2 separate regions of the Homo sapiens genome follow, and region 2 is linked to region 1. The links are contacts of gene promoters, found by promoter capture Hi-C in human tissues and cell types (Jung and others, 2019). All regions are on one chromosome and are shown on one strand. Each heading gives the region's core, a stretch centred on a gene start or on the middle of the fragment in contact. The rest is flanking DNA. Distances are from core to core; before and after follow the strand shown.

The links. Contacts are between HindIII fragments. The study calls those that stand out against the background at their distance.
Region 2: a fragment that was not itself captured here is called in contact with the fragment with the promoter of PDGFB in region 1 in 2 of the 25 tissues and cell types used here (dorsolateral prefrontal cortex and lymphoblastoid cells).

What each region holds. Positions count from the first base shown.
Region 1 is chr22:39,243,732-39,249,633 of GRCh38, forward strand. PDGFB (platelet derived growth factor subunit B) reads right to left here and starts at 1,251. Exons shown (of 7, transcript NM_002608.4): 1 at 170-1,251. The coding sequence starts at 232. The HindIII fragment of the contact is 11,810 bases long and covers 1-5,902 here.
Region 2 is chr22:39,500,095-39,505,895 of GRCh38, forward strand. MIEF1 (mitochondrial elongation factor 1) reads left to right here and starts at 2,196. Exons shown (of 6, transcript NM_019008.6): 1 at 2,196-2,343; 2 at 4,109-4,440. It overlaps MIURF (mitochondrial elongation factor 1 upstream open reading frame), which reads left to right and starts at 4,137. Exons shown (of 1, transcript NM_001414695.1): 1 at 4,137-4,349. The coding sequence starts at 4,137. The coding sequence ends at 4,349. LOC105373035 (a long non-coding RNA gene) reads right to left here and starts at 2,066. Exons shown (of 3, transcript XR_938263.4): 1 at 1,940-2,066; 2 at 1,170-1,498; 3 at 398-474. RefSeq lists enhancers at 1,976-2,477, 2,335-2,384, 2,478-2,977 and a silencer at 2,485-2,594. The HindIII fragment of the contact is 4,490 bases long and covers 1,668-5,801 here.

The DNA of each region.
Region 1 (5,902 bases), core at 1-2,500:
CTGTCACCCCCGGACCTCGCTCCCAGCCCGAAGAGGTCACCCAGCGCCCGGCGTCAGGCTCGCGGGCTGCAAGGGTCCAAAGTTCACTGCAGGGAGAGGAGGGGGCGGTCAGAAGGGGGGGGCGAAGGTAATGAATGAAGAACCAGCCCCAGCCGCCGTGGCAACTCACCTCGGCGCTGACCAGACGCAGGTAGCAGCAGAGAGACAGGAAGAGCGCCCAGCAGCGATTCATGCCGACTCCGGGCCCGGCCCCGCGGGGCCCCGGACGCGTAGATCGAGCGCGCCGCCCCCGCGGCCAGGGTGGGGGGCTGGGGAGGGGGGTGGGCTCGGCTCGGGTCCGCGGCGATCAGGCGCTCAGGCCTCTGCAGCCGCGGCTCACCCGCATGGCCCCCGGGCGCCGCCGCCCCCGGCCCCGGCTCCGTCGCTGGGGGGCAGGGGAGGACCTGGGCGCAGGACCTGGGTCCGAGGCCGCTACCTGGGCGGATCCCGAGCCCGAGTGAGCATCCACGGCCGGGGGGCTGCGTCGCGAACCAGCCGAGGCGTCTAGCCGTGTGGGGGCGCCCAGGGGACTCCAACCTCCAAGAGGAAAAGGAACACGGCAGTCGATGGTTCGTCTTCACTCGCCGGCTACAGGCGTTTTCCTCTGCCCGCCGGCTTAGCTTTTTTGCAACATTTTCTGGAAAGGCCCCCAAAATCGGAAAGCGCGGAGCTGGGCACCTCAAGGCCCAAGTCTCCCCCAAAAAACTTTTTCCAAAGTTGGCTTTGCAACGGCAGCTCGAGCACCCGGGCAGGGAGAGGTGCAAACTCCCGCCCGGGCCGGGTAGGGGGGCGGGAGCGTGTGCGCCCTGGCGCGGGGCCCGGGCGGCGGGCACGGCTGCTCCGCGCGCGCGGCGTGCCCGCTGCGCGCTCGGCTGGGCCCGGCCGACAGGTGGACGCGGCGCGAGTCCGTCGGTCCGTCTGCCCGCCCGCTCGCCGCTCTGGGCGTCCTCTGCGGGCTGCGGGCTGCGAGCTGCGAGCTGCGAGCTGCGGCTGCTCCGGTTTTCTCTTTGCAGCGAGGCTGGAGGGTGGGCTTTTTTTTTTTTTTTTCCTTTTTGCGCGCGTATGTATGTGTGTGCGCGCAAAGTATCTCTATCTAGGGAATGAAAAATGGGCGCTGGCGGCCGGAGGGGAGCCCTAGGGAGGCAGCGGGGGAGGCTGCGGGTGCGCAGGGAGGCAGGCAGGCCGCTCCCGGCTGCAGGAGGAGAAGTTGCCACCCTTTCAGCTGTTCCGGCCTTTATAAAGGAGAAGGGAGAGTGCGAGAGGTGGGTGGAGACAGCCTTTCCTCTTCTGGCCCGGAGTCAGCGCCAGGAGGGGGGGGACGCGGGAGCTGGGGGAGGGCTTGGGGCCAGGGCGGGGCGCTTAGGGGGTCTCTGAGAGCCGAGCAACCCTTCAGTCCATGAATCTGGCCCTGGGGAAAAAAGAACTAGGGGTGACCCACCGTCCCGCCCCTCAGCACAGTGACCATGGACAGGTTAGGAGCCCACGTGGTCTAGGGGGATGTCTCCAGAGCCAAGGCCAGGAGTCCACGCTCCCCTCCAGGACCAGACATTTCCACCCTGGCACAGGCATGGCAGGGAGGGACTCAGGCTCTGCAGTCTGAGAGCCTGAATTCAGATCCTGCCCTGGCACTCGGGAGCTTGGGTCACCTTGGGCAAGTCACTTCCCTCTGTCCCCTCCATCTAGCCTCAACCTGGAGATGGGGCTATTGTAAGGACTCAGTGTTAGCAAGGGAAGACACCGCAAGGTGAACCCACAGAACCCGGCAGCCAGCGCCCTTCAGCTGCAAGCTGGGTCCGAGTCTCCTCCTCCTAGCTGGTTGCCTGGCACAACAGGCCCTGCCAGCGTTGGCTGAATTTGAATTTGTTGAACTGCAAAGTCACACAAACCCCCACAGCCCTGCAGCATCTTCGCAGGGCTACCAACATGATCTTCCCGTCAGTCACCCTGCTGTTTACTATCTCCCTCAGCCCCCGGGTTCGAGGCCCAGAGCCCACCCACCCACAACCAGCCTTCACACAGTTAACGCCTTCTGCCCCCAGTCAGGGAGCTGCTGTGTCCCTGCCTTCAGCAGTCACACTGTCTCAGTCACAGTCACACGTACTCACACTGGGCCCAGCACCCCCCTCGGGACACGCAGGCTCCTGCATCACCCAGCCTCCCGGCTTTGAGGCACCCTCATCTCCTCCGCTTGCACTGTCTCTGTTATCCGCCCTTCCCTTTGGGATGTCAGCCTGCTTCTCACAGAGGAGCACACTGAGAGAGTCACACCTGCTCTCTCTTCATAGACTGTCTTCTTGGACCTGGACAGGGTGGAACAGAGGAGGAAGGACATCTCAGGTGGTCTTTACAGACCACTGCAGGCACCCACCCACTGCTGCCTACCACCCAGCAGCGTGGCACAGTGGCAGAGACACAGCCTGAAGACACATCACCTTGGTCCAAATCCTGGAGTGGCCACTTGCTGGACAAGTGTCTGCAGGAAGGTTTTTTAACCTCTCAGTACCTCGGTTTCCTCCTTTATAAACTGGAGATGAATTTATAAACTGGAGCTGGGTGTGGTAACAAGCTCCTGTAGTCCCAGCTACTCAGGAGACTGTGGATCGTTTTGAGCCCAGGAGTTTGAGGCTGCAGTGAGTTGTGACTGTGCCACTGCACTCCAGCCTGGGCAACAGAGCAAGACCCTATCTCTAAAGAAATAAAAATAAATCTATAATGGGAAGGAGTGAGAGAGAACAGAGAGGCATGGCAAAATTTTAGTGGTGATGGAAATGTTTGTCATTTTTGATTGTGGTGATGGGCTTATGGGTGTATACGTACATCACAACAAAATGTGTGCAGTTTGTTGTACCTCAGTGCAGTTGTAGAGAATTTTTACCCTGCTCCTGGAGTGGTCTGGAGGCTCCCATGAGGTCCTCCATGTGGAGGCGCTCAGCAAAACACCTTAGCAGGAAGCAAGCGCCTGGAACCTTCCATGCAGCCTTCAAGTTCACTGGTGGCCCCGCACTGCTCCAGGCACTGGGGAGACAGGTGTGAACCAGCCTAATGCAGGCCCCTGCCTTTGAAGAGCCCCATTGAGAAGGACAACCAGATGTATAAACAGATAAATTAGGAGACAGGGTGACAAGGGAGATGGGGCAGCGGGACGAGGAGATAACCCCCAAACACTAGATTTGAAGTCTAACGACTCAGAGATAAAAACCCTCTTCCACCGGACAGCTGGGTCATTTGACCTTGACCTTCTGTGTCTTCTATAAATAGAATGGTAACAACTACCATGATTAGTGAGCTGACTATGTGGTAGCTAGTGTTTTTCTTACTCTACCTGTAGCCTCTCCATGCTCCTGTGAGATGTGTTATTCCTATCTTACAGATGGGGAAATGGAAGCACAGAGAGGCCAATACACTTGTTCAAGGTCACACAGCCCGTAAGTGGTAAGGCCAGGACTTGAATCTGAGCAGTCCAGCTACAGAGCCCACATGCTGAGACCACCGTGCTGTGCAATTTTCTGGCAGGTGATGCTGATGACAATGATGACACTTTTGACACAGCGCTTTGGTGAGCGCCACATGCATTAATATGTGGGAACCTGCTCTGCCAGCTAAAAAGTGATGGACCCATATGAACTCTGACTTAGGTACAAGTTGAGGGAGAGGGAAGGCTACTCAGAGCAGCATCGTAGAACGCCTACTGTTTGCAGACCCTGTGTGAAGCGCTGAGAAATGGAATGAGGAAGGAGTCCCAGCCTCGGCACTCAGGGACTTCCCATGCTCTCAGTGAGATAGACCCAAATCATTGCAGTGCAGGTGCCAGTACATGGGTTAGAAGTGGCAGAAGAGGGCCCAGCAGACACCTGGGCCTGAATGCTACGTGACACCTGCGTGACACCTGGGCCTGAATGTTGTGCTAAGGGCTCCTTTCTTGTACCTTCTCTGTGCAGAGGAACAGTCTGTAAAGAACACCTCCCCAGGCACGGTGGCTCACCCCTGTATTCCCAGCAATTTGGGAGGCTGAGGCCAGAGGATCATGTGCAGCCAGGAGTTCGAGACCAGCCTCAGCAACATAGCGAGATCCCATCTCTTAAAAAAAATTACCAAAAAAAAAAAAAAAAAAAAAAAAAAATATATATATATATATATATATATATATATATATATATATATATATATATCTGAGTGTGGCCCCAGCTACTCAGGAGGCTGAGTCAGGAGGGAGAATCCCCTGAGCCCAGGAGTTCAAGACTGCAGTGAGCCATCTCAGAGACGGGGTCTCGGTCTGTCGCCGAGGCTGGAGTGCCGTGGTGCGATCTCTTCTCACTGCAACCTCTGCCTCCCAGGTTCAAGCGATTCTCCTGCCTCAGCCTCCCGAGTAGCTGAGACCACAGGCGCCTGCCACCATGCCCAGCTAATTTTTGTATTTTTAGTAGAGACGGTTTCACCATGTTGACCAGGGTGCTCTCGATCTCCTGACCTCAAGTGATCTGCCCCACTCAGCCTCCCGAAGTGCTGGGATTACAGGCATGAACCACCACACCCAGCCTAAAAATTTTTTTTTAATAACACCTGATCGTCTGCCTCCTGCCAGGCTGGGTGTAGCAGGCACCTCCTCCAGAAGGCCCACCAGGCTTGGCACTTGTTCCAGGCTCCACAGCATGCACACCTGGCATCGTCATGGCCTGATCATCAATCTAGCACTAGACTGAGTCCAGAGTGTTCAAGGGCCTCCTGCCAGCTCCTAGCATACAGTGGCTGCTCAGGAAGTGCCGCTCGCTGAAGGAATGAATAAATGATTAAAATCCTGCCAATTTCTCTTTCTGAGTCCTGACCAGTTATTGCAGAGATGCCAGGCCCTTCCTAAAGGGTGGAAAGAGTTGGGGAGGGGCTTGTAGCATGAGCCTCTAAGCTTGGAAGCACAGGGCCCCTGAAGGGCACCCCTTCTGGAGGTATCAGAACTGGGAAGGGTCTGAAGCCACACCACCCTGAATGCACGTGGTCTCATCTGACCTCGGAACTTCATCAGGGCTGGGTCTGAGGAGCACTTGAATGAGAGAACTGGGAAGGCCCCCGCCCATCTTCGCGTTCAGGCCACTGGGAAATAAGGTTCTCCAGCAGAGCTAGGGATGGGGGCGCCCACACCCCCGTAACTCTCCACCCTCCACTCCAGGACAGATCTGAGCCAAAGGGAAAAAGAGTGGCCACAGCCGTGGGGGATGGGGGTGCTGCCCAAGGTTGGGGGCTTTTTAGACTGTGTGCTCAGAGCTATCCAAGCCCTCATCCATGAAGAGCATCTTACACCCTGGGCGTGGGGGTCCAGGACACTGGCTGGGGTGAAGAAATACCAAGGAAGGAGTTGGGTTCCATCCCGGGGGCAAACTCACGCCCTCAAGTCCAGAAAGGTGAGAGCGATGATCACTGGGAGCCTCCCCGCCACTGAGAGGGGCCAGCAACACCTGGGCCAGGCAGCTCTGCTTCTCCATACTTGATGGAGAGGAAGTGAGGCTCTAAGCTGGAGACCGTCCAAGACCATGCCACAAATGGTCTGAAACTCCAAGCCCTACCCCACTCCGCGTGGCCCTCATCAGCTCCCCCATGCCCCTTGCTGCCCCATCCCCTGCCTCCCTGTCTACAGGGCCTTTGGCTGTCCACAAAGCACTTCCTTCCCCTCTGCCTGCCTCACCCTCACAGTCGCCCAGGGAGAAGGCATTGCCATCGTATATGCCCATTGTACAGATGAGGAAAGTGAGGCTGAGAGAGGGCAAGGGACTAGGCTTCCCGTCAAAGACCACCTGGGTTCAAAGCCCTGCCCTACCATCTACTAACTCTGTGACCTTAAGCAAATTCCTTAACCTTCCTGAGCCTCACGTTC
Region 2 (5,801 bases), core at 2,663-5,162, 260 kb after region 1:
CGAGACTCCATCTCAAAACAAACAAACAAACAAACAAACAAACACCCTGCAATATCAATCCAAGAGATCCTGGAATGCCTCTTGCCCTGTGAAACCTGGCAGAGCCCTGAGGTTTGGGTCAGTGCCCCCTGCCGTGGGTCTCTGGCCTACAAAGGCACCATGGGTACGTACATGTAAGTGCTAGATACCACCTCACTGCCCACACTCCATTGCCACGGAAGCATCGGGGGCAGGGAGAGGCCTTGTCAGTCTAAGTAAAGATAAGACCCTGAAGAGCAAGTGGATCTAGAGGGGCTGATCCGAAGGGGAGACCCCTCCAAATGACCTCCCTCTGTCCCTCCCTCCGAAAAATAACATTCCATAGAACAAGAAAGTCAGGAGAGATATGAAGAGGTCATCTGGTATGCCGATGGAAATGCCACCAATTATATTTATTTGGGTCACAAAATTCTTTAAAAAGCAAATTAGGGCAGCCTGAAAGAGTGGAAAGAACACACATTTCAGAGTAAGACAGACTTGGCTTCCACTGAAAGCTTCTTTCCTTCTTAGCTCAGTGTCTTAGAAACTACTATGCCTCTCTCCATCTTGGTTTTCTTTTCTTTTCTTTTTCTTTTTTTTGAGACCGAGTCTTGTTCTGTCGCCCAGGCTGGAGTACAGTAGCGTGATCTTGGCTCACTGCAACCTCTGCCTCCCAGGCTCAAGCAATTCTCCTGCCTCAGCCTCCCAAGTAACTGGGATTACAGGTACAATGCCACCACTCCCGGCTAATTTTTGTATTTTTAGTAGAGATGGGGTTTCACCATGTTGGTCAGGCTGGTCTCGAACTCCTGACCTCAAGTAGATCCGCCCACCTCAGCCTCCCAAAGTGCTGGGATTACAGACGTGAGCCACCGTGCCCAGCCCTGCAACAGACTCTTGATTGGTCTCCCTGCCTCAGCCCTGGTTCCATTCCGTTATTCTCAAGCCAGACAGATCCCATTGAAAGGGAAGTCAGATCCCAGCACTTCTTGGCTCTGAACCCTGCTGTGGTTCCTTTGCACCCGCCATCTCCCTCCCAGTTCTGGTAAGGGCCTCCCCTCTGGCCTCTTTCCCAGCTCCTGCTCACTCAGCTGCGAAAGCACTGGCTTTCTCCCTGTGGCTCCTAGACCACGCTGAGCTTAAAGGCTTACCTGGGGGGAGGCCTGAAATGCTCTTCCCTGCAATGTTCTTCTCCTGGTTCTCGTCCTTTTATCAGATAGCCTGACTATTCTGCAATTGCCCACCCCTCTACTGGTAGATATTACCTTTTAATCCTCACCACAGCCCCAAGGCTGGGTGAGGTTAGGAAACTTGGCAGAGGGCAGCTGTCCCTAAGTGGTGGAACTGGAACTAGGAGCCAGCGGTGGCCCCGGTGGCCCCGGACTCCAAAGCCCCAGGCCCTGGGCTTGGCAGAGCCAGGCATGGAGGGAGGCAGTTGGGGGAGGGAGCTTCCATAGAGACACGGCCTCCGTCCTCAAATCTAGTGAGAGACAGAGAAGCAAATGGATAAATTACAGTGCCTGGCATATGGTAGGCGCCAAGAAATACGTTTTGTTGTTGAACAGATTATGAGGCGTAAGATGTGCAGACATTTCCGTGGGGCCCAAAGAAGGCACGTGAGTGTGTTAGAGGGAGGCGAGGAAGGGGCTGGGAGAGATTTCCCAGTGAAGGGGGGCATTTGAGGTAGACTTTGAAGGAAGGGTAGGAGTTTGCCAGAAGCCATGGGGCCTGGGGAGTAGGAACAGCATGGAGGGATGAAAAGAAGGCGATCTGAGAAAATGGGTTTTGAGGAGCTCTGAATATTAGTGTTAGAATTCCCTCAGGTACCCCAGGGCCCCAGCCAGAGATCAGCATATACAGTACAGGAGGCTGGCCAGGTACCCCGACAGGCTAAGGGGTTGCCAGCAGGTGAGGGGCCTACCCGGTGCGGCAGCCTTGTTGGACAGCGAGGCTACCTCCTGCCCTCTGAACTTCTGCCAGCATCGGGACCACCCCGGTACCCACAGCCGGACCCGGACACCGGAGTCCTCTGGGGGCGGGGCGCGAGTGGCCTCTGCAGGCCAGTCCCTTGGTGAGGTCACACACGGAGGCGGGGCTCAGGATTGGGGGGCGGAATCATGCGCAGGGGGCGGGGCCCGAGAGAGAGCTTGGAGAAGACCGGAAGTCCCTCCGCCTCCACTCGCCCTCGTGCTCCCTTCAGCCCCTTCGCAGCTCCGTGCGCAAGGTCGTGTCCCGGAAGTGAAGGGGCCATGTTGATGGGTGACCCGGGGAGAGGTACCCGGCCAGAGGCGAGTCCTGCGGAGTGGTAGCGCGCACGGCCTGCGGGTGAGTGAGAGAAGGAATGAGGGCCGCCGGCGGCTGGGCGGCGGGGAGGTTGCAGCGCCTCCTCTCAGGCTGCTGCCGGCGCCTCGCATGCGGCCCGGAGTCAGGATACCAGCATGCAGCCGGGGGTCTCGCCCCATCCCGCCCTGGACTTTCCCCTGGGAGACCCCTCGGCTGCCCCGCCCCGCCCCAACCTCGGAGACCTCCAGTGCCCCGAAGCAGGCCTGCCCTGGCCTCTGGGCCTCCGCACCCCGGCCCGGCCCCCACGGTTGGTGAAGTGCAGACTGGCTGGGGCTCAGCCGCCCAGTCGCCCAGCGACCTTGTAGTTACAGCCCTCGCCGTGACAGTCGCCTTTTACAGCATCAAACACTTCTGTTGATTTTCTGCATCGGGAGGTCCTTAGGGCCGAGGGATCTCTTAAACAGTTGAGGAAAAATGGGCAGGGATGGTGGCTTGCTCAAGCTTGCGCAGGAAGTTAGCAAGGCCGGAGGCTAAGGGCTCGCGGACTTTGGGCCCAAAGTCCAATCTTTTTTTCCAGCCAAATACTTCCCCCACTTGGTGTCATTTCTTTATTTCTGAAACGGAGGTGATCATTTCTTCCACATAGGGACGTTGTGAAATTCTCTCCGTTACGCATAATTTTGAGCCCCTTGTATGTGCCAAGCGCTGTGCTGGGAAAGTTCGTGGAGCACCCAGAAGTGCTGTACACACGGTCCGGCTCCAGCAAAGGGTAACTCATTCCAGAGGCAGGCAGAGTTGGGGTCAGGAGTGCAGCCCTCCCCTTGACAGCTGTGGGCCCGCGGGCAAGTTACTTCCCTCTGGGAGATTGTTTCCTCCACTTAAAATGGGGTAATGTTGACCCCTAGGGTAGCTGACAGAATGAGTTGTTATGTGAGACATGCTTCGAACATTGCACGTTGTATATAGTGCAATATAATGCAATAAGCATTTACTGTTACTAAGAACCCTGACCACCTTCTAGATTCTTAATTTAAATGTGGTCATGGGCAACAAAGCACTTTACAGATATGCTTGTGTAAGGGTTTATTGTTACTGAAGGAAGGCAGTGGCAGTTTATACTTAAATGTAATTATTTATTGAGCATTTACAAACCTGGCTAGGTGCTACTAATAATATCTGCTGTTGATAGAGTGCTTCGTGTGTGCCAAGTGCTGTTCTAAACATATTCACATACATTAAACTCATTTAGTGCTTATGCCAACCGTATGGGCAAAATATGATTTTTATCCTCACTTCACAGATGAGGAACTGAGACAGTCACAGAGAGGTTAGGAGACTTGCCCACGGTCATGCAGCTCGTAAGTGCTGGTGCCAGGATTCAAGTATGGCTGAGTGCTTGTCTTCAACCCTCCTAGATCACCCCCTGTGGTGAAGTTCTATTACCGTTCATTACGTGCACAGTTCTCAAAATAATCCTATGTGGTAGGTACTATTGCCATAATATCCTAATCTCCATTTTATAAGTGAGGAAGCTGGTGCTCAGCGGGGGTTCAGTCCTTTGCCCAAAGTCATATGGCAAGTAAGTGGCAGGGCCAGGATTTGAGCCCTGGTGAACCACAACCTGTATGTTTCCAGAATGGGCATCCAGAGGCTGGGGTCTCTAGTTCTAGTCTTGCCATTAAGTCATACGGTGACCTGGAGCGGGGGGTCTCTGGAACTTGGATTAAAAAGCCCTCACATAGTCTCTACAGGTCCTTTTGTTATTAATTCTGATACTAGGCTTGTATGTCTTTCCTTCTGTTTATAGTGTGACACCCAGCCCCTGCCAGTCCCCCATGGCCCCGTGGAGCCGAGAGGCGGTGCTGAGTCTCTATCGGGCTCTGTTGCGCCAGGGCCGACAGCTTCGCTACACTGATCGAGACTTCTACTTTGCCTCCATCCGCCGTGAATTCCGAAAAAATCAGAAGCTAGAGGACGCTGAGGCCCGGGAGAGGCAGCTGGAGAAGGGCCTGGTCTTTCTCAACGGCAAATTGGGGAGGATCATTTAGGATCCTCCAAGGGAAAGAGGACAAAGGTGCCTTCTGTAGACACTCCTGCTCTCTTCCATCCCCATCTTACAGATGTATTAAGAAGCCTCAGGTACGTAGGCCCTCGTTCCTGTAGGTTTCCTTATTTTTTGTTGCAAGGGACCGAGAAAAGGATCAAAGTCATCCTTTTAGTCATTAGAAATCAGTGCAGAGCCAGGTGCACTGGTGTGCACCTATAGTCCCAACTCTGCAGGAGGCTGAGGCAGGAGGATGGCTTCAGCCCAGGAGGTTGAGGCTGCAGTGAGGTATGATTGCACCACTGCACTCCAGGCTGGGTGACAGAATGAGACCCTGTCTCTGGGGTGGGGGGGAAAAAAGAGGACATTTGAGGTCTGCCTCAAATGAGAAATAGAGGTTTACCAGCAGCAGGGCAGGAATAAGCAAATGCCTGGAGTGGGAACTGCAATTTTCTTTTTTAAGAGACAGGGTTGGCCCGGTGCGGTGGCTCACGCCTGTAATCCCACCACTTTAGGAGGCCAAGGCAGGAGGATCACAAGGTCAGGAGTTCGAGACCAGCCTGGTCAGCATGGTGAAACCCTGTCTCTACCAAAAATACAAAAAATTAGGCGGGCATGGTGGCGCATGCCTTAAGTCCCAGCTACTCAGGAGGCTGAGGCAGGAGAATTGCTTGAACCCGGCACGTGGAGGTTGCAGTGAACCAAGATCGCGCCACTGCACTCCAGCCTGGGTGACAGAGTGACACTCCGTCTCCAAAAAAAAAAGAGACGGGGTCTCGCTCTCGCCCAACCTGGAGTACAGTGGCATGATCATAGCTCTCTGGAACCTTGAATGCCTGGCCTCAAGCAGTCCTCCCTTCTCAGCCTCCTGAGTAGCTGGGACGCCAGGCATGTACCAATGTGCTCAGCTAATTTTTTATTTATTTATTTTTTTTGTAGAGACGGTCTTGCTATGTTGCCCAGGCTGCTTTCAAACTCTTAGCCTCAAGCGATCCTCCCACCCTTGCCTCCCAAAGCTTTGGGATTATAGGTTCAAACAGCTCTGCCTGTCCAGAAACTGCACTTTGTAGTCTGGAAACTTAAGTCTGATGTGGCCAGCATGGTACCCCTGTAAGGCAAATAGCCAGAGTTGAGGCTGGGCCTGGTCTGGAAGGACGTTGACTCCAAGTTGAGATTGTAATGTATATCTTCTTATGTGGGGACCATCACAGCTCTGTAAACAGAGGAATGACATAGCCACATTTGTATCGTAGAGGGAGCATACCAGTGGCAGTGTGAAGAATAAATTGATGAGAGATACTAGAGGCAGTGGATGTAGCCAGATCAGATTGAGGGACCGAGGGGTGGGGGTGGCCACATATAAACACAGTGTGTACAGCAGTGGGACTTGGTGATCAGTTGGCTGAGGCAGGAGGAGGAGAGAGAAAGATGAAGAGTAACTGGGTGTAAGGCCTGC